Regions from separate parts of the Homo sapiens genome. Here region 2 is linked to region 1. Evidence: promoter capture Hi-C in 16 types of primary human blood cells and fetal thymus (Javierre and others, 2016). All regions are on one chromosome and are shown on one strand. The core of a region is centred on a gene start or on the middle of the fragment in contact, and the rest is flanking DNA. Distances in the headings are between cores, read along the strand shown. Region 1 holds the start of CCDC85A (coiled-coil domain containing 85A). Region 2 has its middle 870 kb from the start of VRK2.

Region 1 (4,554 bases), core at 1,181-3,680:
AACACCCTCAGAAAGTTATTATCATTGCATTGTATTGGTGAATAAAAGGAGGATCTGAGAAAGTAATTACCCAAGCTCACCCTCCTGGCAAATGAGGTTTCTAGAATTCAAACCCACCTCTGAGATCATCTTCCTACTACACTAGCCTGCCTCTATTCCCCAAAGAGACTGGCACTTAATAAACACTCTGTTAGTAATGAATTCAACCACAGGAGAGAGTAAGCCTTGGCATTTTTCTGACTGGAGGAATCTTCCTACCTGCACCCACTCTAGGGACTATATGACAATGACTTTCGGCCTCGGGAGACGGCCATCTCCACCTGAACTGGGCCCAGCACATAGGTGAGCCTTGAGCATTCCACTCTTCCCACTCTTTCTTGCCCCAGAATCCCAGAGCTGGAGCACTGAGGCAATTCCGGAACAGCATCTACTGTCTGATATGTGGGGATAGGAGTGGAAAGGGGAAAAGAACAGCTTGTGCCTTCGGGAATTTGCTCCCTGAAGTCCCTGCAGTGATTTCGTTTGTGTCTGGCTTCCTACAAACAAAGCAGAACAATGAGAGGAAGGAATACCAGGAGGCACCAGCGCTAGCTGGAAGGAGAGGAAGTTTGTGGTGCTCGCCAGCAGGGCGGTTCCCGGCCACTAGTGTACTGCAGCTGGGCAGGCACACTCCTCGCAGACCCGGCGCTCTCCAAGGAGAAAAGAAAGTTAGTGGGCTTGGGGTACGTTTCCCTTCTTTTCCTAGAAGAGGGTGGCAGGGGGGCTGGCTCAGAAAGAAACCATCACTGACCAACACTTGGGGTACTCTGTCAAAATGCTGCTCCTTCCATACTGAGTCTCTTTGCTCCTCCTCTTTCCCCCAGTCAACCTGGGGTTAAGTGGGAAGGGGAGTAAGGCAACTCCAGGGGATGCCTTCCAAACTCCGGGAGAGGGAAAGCACAGGAATTGGGAGAAGACGTGAAGGCAGAGCTTGAACTCCTATGTACCCGGTGACACAAGACTGCTCTGAGGGTGGCGCCCGCTGCTTCTCCCGGGCGCCCCGCCAGCCGCTCTCCCTGGCAGTGGCGCCCTTTCCTCGCCCTCTGCCCGCCCAAGAGCTGCTGGCCCAGAGCAGCCGCATTCCCGACCCTCCAAGGCGAAGATCCCCTGGATTCACCCCCTCACTGGCCTTTCCGCCTAACTGACTGAAACCCGGCTCCCCAGGCACAGATTTTCCAGCCTCCCTAAGAAATGAAAGGTTCGCGTGCCCTTCACCTCCCTCCCTGCTTTCCAGCGTCCTCAGCGCCTCCCCGAACAGCCAGACAGTGGAGCGCCCCGTGTTGGGGAGAGGAGGGGAGCAGACGCCTCCGAAGTTTGGAAAAGTTACACAGGGGCTGGGGACTGGGGGTAGGGGGTGCCGACCGGGAGAAGGGGAGGGTCACCTGTTGAGGGAGGGAGGGAAAGTTTGCCTGGCCCCGCCTCCTCCTCGGGGCACCCCGCTCCCAGCCGCGCCGCGCCTCCCCACCTGGCCCGCGCTCACCTTGAGGCCGCGGATCTCGCCGAGGTGCAGCTGCAGGCGGCGGTTCACCTCGCGGATGAGGTTGCTGTGGTCCAGCATCGCGCTCACCTTCTCCGCCTCGGCGCGCCGCAGGCTGCGGATCAGCTCCTCCTTGCTCCACTGCAGCAGCTCCTCGTCCGACACTTTGGACAGGTCCTCCACCGGCGCGGGCGGGGCCGCGGACGAGCCGGCCGGGGCTGGGGAACAACTTTCCGCCGCCGCCGCAGCCGCCGCCGCGCCTCCGGCCGCCTTCGACATGGTATCCGCGGGGTGGCAGGTGCAAGTGGGTGGAAGAGGCGAGGCGACTCCCGAAGGCGCGGGCGCGGCGAGGCCGCCTCCGCCCACACCCCTGTGCGCTCCGGCGAGTCAGCGGCACCGCCCAGGGGCCGCTGGGTTGGGGCGGCGGGGGTCGCGCTGGGTGGCCATCCTACCTCGCCATCCCCGCGCGCGCGCCCGCGCTCCCCCAGGGCCCGGCAGCCAGCCGCTTGCTGCTGCCGAGGCCCGTCCCAACTCCGCGCAAGTCCATGGTGAGGGGCACTGGGGAGCCCGGGGCTGCCGCGGGAAATCCTCGGGGACAGCGGGGGAGCTGCACCGCCGTTCCCCTGCCCTCTCCTCCGCCCTAAGCCGAGACTGTCGCCCCCCGCACTCTCTGCCCTGCACACAGGCGTGCACGCACACGCACTTTCCTCCCCCTTGCCCAGCTGCAGCCCCCGGCTTCTCCCCTCTCCTAGCTTGGAGGGCGCGCCGGGCACCGCGGCGCCTCCCCGGCTGCTCTAGCGACGCCGCCGCGGCTGCCCGAAGGCTGCTGCGCTCCTCCTGCCGCCTTCGCTGCGCCCGCGGCCGCTCCTAGGCTGCTCCGGAAAGCCTTCGATTTGCAGAGCGGAGTCGAGAAGGGGTGGAGGGTGGGGGACCGGCTGGAGGAGGAGCCTGGAGCTGGGGCCACCCGTAACCCGCAGCAGCTCCCGCATGGGCTGGACGCAGCTGCCACTCGACCGCTGCCCGGGCCCTCGAGGTGCGCTCCCGGCTGTCCTGCCCGGGAGGGCTGGGGGCGCGGCTCTTTCTGCGCCCGGGCGGGTGGGGCTGGAATGGGGAGAAGGTGAGGAGCTGTGGCCGCCCGGTCTTTGGGAGGCTCGCGCGCGCCACCGTGTGGCGGAAGAAGCTCCCTCCTCTGCCCTCTGCACACCGGCCTTGTCACCAGGCAGGGGAAACAGCTGCTGACCCAAATGCGAGGTGCTTCGTATTTGGAGGGATCGGGGATCAGGAAAGATGGGGTAGCAGGACCTGAGGGATAACCAGTTATTTGCACTTTGGAGAATGGGAGGAGAGGCAAATGGCAAAAACGGGGGTTGGGGAAAGGGGCAGCTTAAGAAAATCCAAATGGTCTGAAAAGGGCGAAAAGAGGCGTCAGGGCACTGCTCTTATGGGGCTACCCATCCCCACCCCCCACTCTCGCCCCACCCCTAGGCCTTTGTGTTTTCTAAAAATCCACTACTCTATGAAGAAGCTTCGGGAGAAGGTACTGGATCTTTTAAATTTTTATTTGAAAAATATCAAAGCCTTTAGGCGAAAATAAAATACCTTCATCTCCTGCTTCCTGAAACCTGGATTTTAAGGTCAGCACAGTCACCTCCCCTCGGAGCAAAGCAAGCCCCCTCAGGCAAGCTGAAATGCCAGCCAAGGAGATTTCCATTTTCTTCTATGCCGCAGGCTGCCAGGCGTTTACTGGGTCGGCTTTTTTATGATGGTTATTTCTGGAAGGAGGAAGTCTGAGTCCCTGGCTTCTATCTTTGGGCTATCCTCTTGTAAAGTTGGGTGGAATCGTCTCTGGGCTGAAAACATGCTTTTGCCTAAAGAGGTGGATGCCCTTGACCACCGCATGTTATTTCCAGTGGGGTACAGGGCCGGAAAATGGCAAGGATCTACCCCCACCGGGTTTCAGTTAACCCGGGTGCAGAGGGAATAATCTCTATCTGGTAGGATGATAATCAAAATCAGTCCCTTCACCCGCCGGTCAGTGCGTGTCCCCTATTGGGGACACTGAGACCTGGCTCCCGGGAGAGGCAAGGAAATGTGGTACTGCTTACGGTGACCAAATGGCCTTAACATTCCCCTCAGCTTAACTAAACTTTAGACAGGTTTCTTCCTAACTGTAGGCCCCAGACCTTCCTTTTCTCAGAGCATTTACTTTAGCCAACTTCCATTGGTGAATGTTTCCTCTGACCCTTTGACATGTAAATCTCTCCGCCTCTTGCTGGGTTTTACAGCCTGGGGATCTTTCTCAGGGATCTGTGAGGCATCCCTTTGAAATGTAATCATCAAGGAAAAAAGGGTCCCTATCTCCTAGTGTTTGTGGAGAGGAGGAGCCTAACTTTAATAAGTTCCAATTAGGAAACACAAATGGCCTCATTACACTGACCAACTTCCCATCCTAATCTCCTCCACTAGTCTTCTACTAGTTCCCCTCTCCCTCCCTCTCTCTCTTCCCTATTGCAATAGCCTTGAATAATTCCCCCTTGTCTGTTTAACTATATCGGATGCAATTTTTCTTTGACACCTCCAAGCCGCTCTCACGCCCACAGAAGGCTCTGCTCAACACAGTTCCTAAGACCAGTTTTGTCACAGAAAGGGAAAGTGAAGGTCAGAAAAAGATAAGTCCTATCTCTGTTACTTGTTAGTTCTTGTCCTTGAACAAACCATCCGACCTTACTGGCCCTCGGGCAGCTAATGATATGGTATACAAGAAGCGCTTGATCGAGCCACCCTACAGAAATGCAACCTTACTATTACTGATATTACATATTACATTGGGCAGCCTCTTGTCTAGAAATAGGAACCAGGACTTCTGTTTATTCCTCCATCACGGGTTCTTCAAGAGTCGTATTCTAAAATGAAACAGCCAGCCCCCTTCTCTGCTAACTCCCTCTGATCAGTTAACACCAAATAGATATGAGAAATCAGAGAGATGGCTGAGAGGAAAAATTAGACTTGTGTTGGGAAGACAAGGAAGAAGGAAAGCC
Region 2 (4,407 bases), core at 191-2,690, 1.0 Mb before region 1:
ACATGGGTCCAGATTCTGGCTAGATGTGGGAAGGTGTGCTGGAAAGTGGGCTGGTGTTTACAGAAAGGGTGAGTGCTGAGGGGATATGGTAGGACAATGAAAGCAGCTGTTACAACTTCTTCCAGAGAAAACATTCTTTTAAAAATGAGACATAAATTAAAGGCAGTTGTGTAAGGAATAATACCATGGTTGCTGAAGACTCATAGACCAGGATTGAAATCCAAACTCTGCCATATCCTGGGAGGCTAATCCTGATAAAAGTATTTAATTTCTCTCAGGTTGGGCTTCATTGTCTGCAAAATGAAACACATGGTATCCATCTCAAAATCTGTAAAGCTTAAATGAATTACCTAAGAAATGCTTAACACAGAATCTAGTATTCAATGTATAGTAAATATTAATGTAATTAAAAGGCAGTTTGGTATTTAAAAATTATATTACCCTTAATGCTTACCATCACTTACCAGAGTTATTTTAAGAATGCAGGGAATCTCATCCAGGTTATCCTTCTGTCACAACTGTTGAACTCGGATTTGAATCCTCTAGTTTCATAGCATGCACAGCCTTTTAAAAAGTCTGTTCACTCTGGTTGGGGGCAGCACTAATGGCTAGCTTATTCTTTTTTATGTTGGAACCTCCCTATAAGTTAAAATAGATAAATGCAGAGGTTCATAGATTCAGAGAGTCTCAGATACACCTCTAACATTTGTGGGACCTGTGTCAAGAGAAGAGATGGCAACATACCCTTTGTCTAAAAGTTAAAATCAAGCTAACATAACTAATACAAAAAATCTTCTATTTTTCTGTTCTGGATAAATACTGAATCATCTTGCTTGTATGTGGTATCCCAAGTATTCAAATACATAGAAGCAGAAAGTAGAATGGTGGTTGCCAAGGAATTGGGGAAGGGGTAATGGGGGGGATTTTCAAGGGTACACAGTTTCAGTTATGCAAGATAAGTTCTGGAGATCTACTGTACACTGTAGAGCATACAGTTAACAAAACTGTATCACACACTTAAATATTTTCTAAAAAGGGTTAATCTTAGGTTAAGTGCTCCTACCACAGAAAGAAAAATGTAATTATTATAATAATAACTAAAAATGGCAGGAAAAAACTTTTAGAAGTGATAAATAAGTCTATAGCATAAATTGTGGTGATGATTTCCTGGGTGTATACTTATCTTCAAACACATCAAGTTGTATACATTGTATATCTATCTATGTATATGTATATCTATCTACAGCCTTTTCTCTGTCAACTATACCTCATTAAAGTGGCTAAAAATATTCTGTGTAGTGGAAATATTGAAATGTATGTATTAAGCTACAATTTCCAGAGAAGGAAAGTTGGTAAAATATAAATTGTAAATAAATATAATTTTATTATGCATGTCTGATTATTTTCTGAGTCAGTGGCATTTGGATGACTAATACATTAAGACTGACATGAGTCACAAATTATGTTTATGCAATCTTAACTTACATTTTTATCAACATTAACAACTATGTTGTTATAATCAGAATAACACATTTTCTTCTGTTGAGAGTAATGCCAAATTAGACAACTTTTAAAAACAAATTATTTTGAAATAATTTGTTGGAATAATGATATATTGCCAGCATTTAAAGAACAAATGTTTTATTGTTTTTAAAAGTCAACTTTTTGAGGTATAATTTCCATATAATGATGTTCACCCTTCTTAAGTGTACAGTTGATGAATTTGACAAATGTTTATAGTCATGCAGTCACCAAAGCAATGCAGTTGTTAGATATTTTCATCATCCAGAAATTCCCTCATGCCTCTTTGTAGATAATCCCTGTCACCACTCTCAGCCTACAACAGCTCTGAGTTATTATAGCTCTAGTTATTTTACTTTTGTAGTTTCAATATAGAAAATTTTAGCCCACTGAGACAATAGCCATTACAATCGTCCATAAAATTCTTAAATTGGCAGTTAGATTAAGGTGTAAACCAAAGAATTGAAATAGTATTGTTCAAATTTTGTGATGAGGTGACAAATATTAAAGTGTCATCACAGAAAATATTACAAAATACTGTAATTTCATTTTATAAATTGCTATCTCAGATTGCAGTTTTCACCATCACTTAAAACAATATCTAGTTTCATAGATTATTGTTTCCATTCTTCTTTCAAATGTTTCAATGGTAACATAGTATTAAAAAAATGGAAATAGCATATGTTGCCAAATTTGTTTTCTTTATATACTTTGATCTATAATTGCCAGTGTTATTCCCTATAGAAATAAGTGTTGAGCTTATATGTTCATGAATCTTATCTTTCATAGTCATAGAAATTGTGTTGATTTTCTTGTTCTAATTATCTTATTTTTATTGGAATAATATTTGTATTCCCTTTTTTCCACATGTTGTATCTATCTTTTTTTCCACATGTTGTATCTATCTTTTTTTCCACATGTTGTATCTATTTAGGAAACAAATTTCTCTAAAATTTTAAAAATACTGTAATCATTTTAATAGTGAAATCATTCAGATCTGTTAGCATTTTTTTGCTAAGCTTTCACTGATATTAAAGGTAAATTAGTTTATACTCAATAATGTGGAAAATATAAATTCACTTTTAGTTTTTGTCTAAGACCACAATTCACCCTCCATTTGAAGATCACCTCTTGTTTTACCTTTTTTAAAACTGCATCTTATTGTATAAAATAAATCAAATTTTTTATTGTGATTATTATCTCTTAGATCCTAAACTGGAACAATAAGAGAAGCGTGGAGGAAACAAATGCATGGTGTGACTGGCAAAACATGCTTCATTACTCAAGAATGTATCGCTTCCTTGCTATTGGAAAGAAGGATTCACAAGTTAATTTTTTTTTTCTTCCTTCATCCAAGTGTTTCCAAAGCTGAAAAGCTCCTTATAGTTCAAAATAGTGCCCTAAAAAAAGTTAGTAGCACAATCCAAACCTTCAGAACTTCCAAAAACAGTTGTTCTTTGTTTTGAAGATATAGAGCAAGAGATGTGGTAAGGAACTTCCTAGAGGCCTGACTCAGTCAGAAGAACAGATGTGTGGTTTATGGGTTGAGCTGTACCGGTGTGTCTGAGTATTCTTTAATACATTTATTTTGTGTGTATTTGAGATATTCAGGGCCTCCAAATTACGTCACTCAGAGCAGGAAAGTCCCTTGAATGGACTGAAAGATGGGTACTGATTGATCTCACCTCTCATCTTTATGACAGTCCTTTAGCTTTGATGATGGCTATTAATATCTTCTACTTTTATAACTGTATGTTACCGGTTTCTTCATGTCTTCTGTTAAACAGCTTGATTTACTCCCTGACCTGGGATTTGAAGTAAATAATAGCCACAAGTCTCCAATTGTTAGCAGACAATTTAAGAGGTCTTTATTTTTTTTTTTTTTTATTTTTTCTTACTTCGCACTTCCTACTTTTCTCTTGGCACTTTCTCAGTTTTCATGTAATTCATCAAAGATTGTTCAAGGAATGTCATCTCTTTACTGTTTTCCTCCATATGACTGGTTGGCAGTGCATCATTGCTAGCATGGTCATCCAGAGGCTTTATCTCTCAGAAGAGGAGAAACTGCATCTGTTCTGTACATGCTGCTCTTGCTGCATGTTGCTAACCCTTCATACTAGAACGCCTTGTTGGACCCTTTTTCTACCTGGTAATTATGCTTAGCCATCTGCAAAAGCCTTTCTGTTCTTAATACAGTTTCTTCTTTGGCCCTGACTACTCACAGTTCTCTTTCTTAATTACAGACAGGAATATTTGGATCTGAATTTTATAGATACAAATATAACTAAATAAAAAATATGTAACAGTTGAATACCATATATTTCATATTTGTGGTAGCACTGTTCACAGTAGCTAAGATTTGGAAGCAACCTACGTGTCCATCAGCAAATGAGTGGATAAAGAAAATGTGGTACATATACACAAGGGAGTATACTATTCAGCCATAAAAAAAGAATGAGATTCTGTCATTTATAACAGCATGGAAGGAACTGGGGATCATTATGTTAAGTGAAATAAGCCAGGCATAGAAAGACAAACACTGTATTTTCTCACTTATTTATGGAATCTAAAAATCAAAACTATTGAACTCATGAACATAGCAAGTAGAAGGATGGTTACCAGAGGCTGGGAAGGGTAGTGGGGGGCTGGTAGGGAGGTGGGGATGGTTAATGGGTACAAAAACATAGTTAGATAAAATGAATAAGACTTACCACTTGATAGCACAACAGGGTGACTATAGTCAATAATAACTTAATTGTACCTTGAAAAATAACTAAAAGAGTATCACTGAATTGTAACACAAAGAATAAATGCTTGAGGTGATTGATAGATACTCAGTCTCCATGTTGTTATTATTTCACATTGCATGGGTTTATCAAAACATCT

Evidence for each region. Contacts are between HindIII fragments. The CHiCAGO score rates a contact against its expected background, and 5 or more counts as called.
Region 2: a contact is called between a fragment that was not itself captured here and the fragment with the promoter of CCDC85A in region 1, in 1 of 17 cell types (endothelial precursors). The highest score is 5.2, in endothelial precursors.

The regions. Positions count from the first base shown.
Region 1 is chr2:56,181,866-56,186,419 of GRCh38, reverse strand. CCDC85A (coiled-coil domain containing 85A) reads right to left here and starts at 2,430. Exons shown (of 6, transcript NM_001080433.2): 1 at 1,520-2,430. The coding sequence starts at 1,795. It overlaps LOC100129434 (a long non-coding RNA gene), which reads left to right and starts at 650. Exons shown (of 3, transcript NR_125368.1): 1 at 650-722. RefSeq lists a silencer at 2,431-2,760. The HindIII fragment of the contact is 6,654 bases long and covers 1-3,043 here.
Region 2 is chr2:57,178,874-57,183,280 of GRCh38, reverse strand. No RefSeq gene overlaps it. Among named protein-coding and RNA genes, the nearest start is that of VRK2, 870 kb to the left of the region's middle. The HindIII fragment of the contact is 2,204 bases long and covers 339-2,542 here.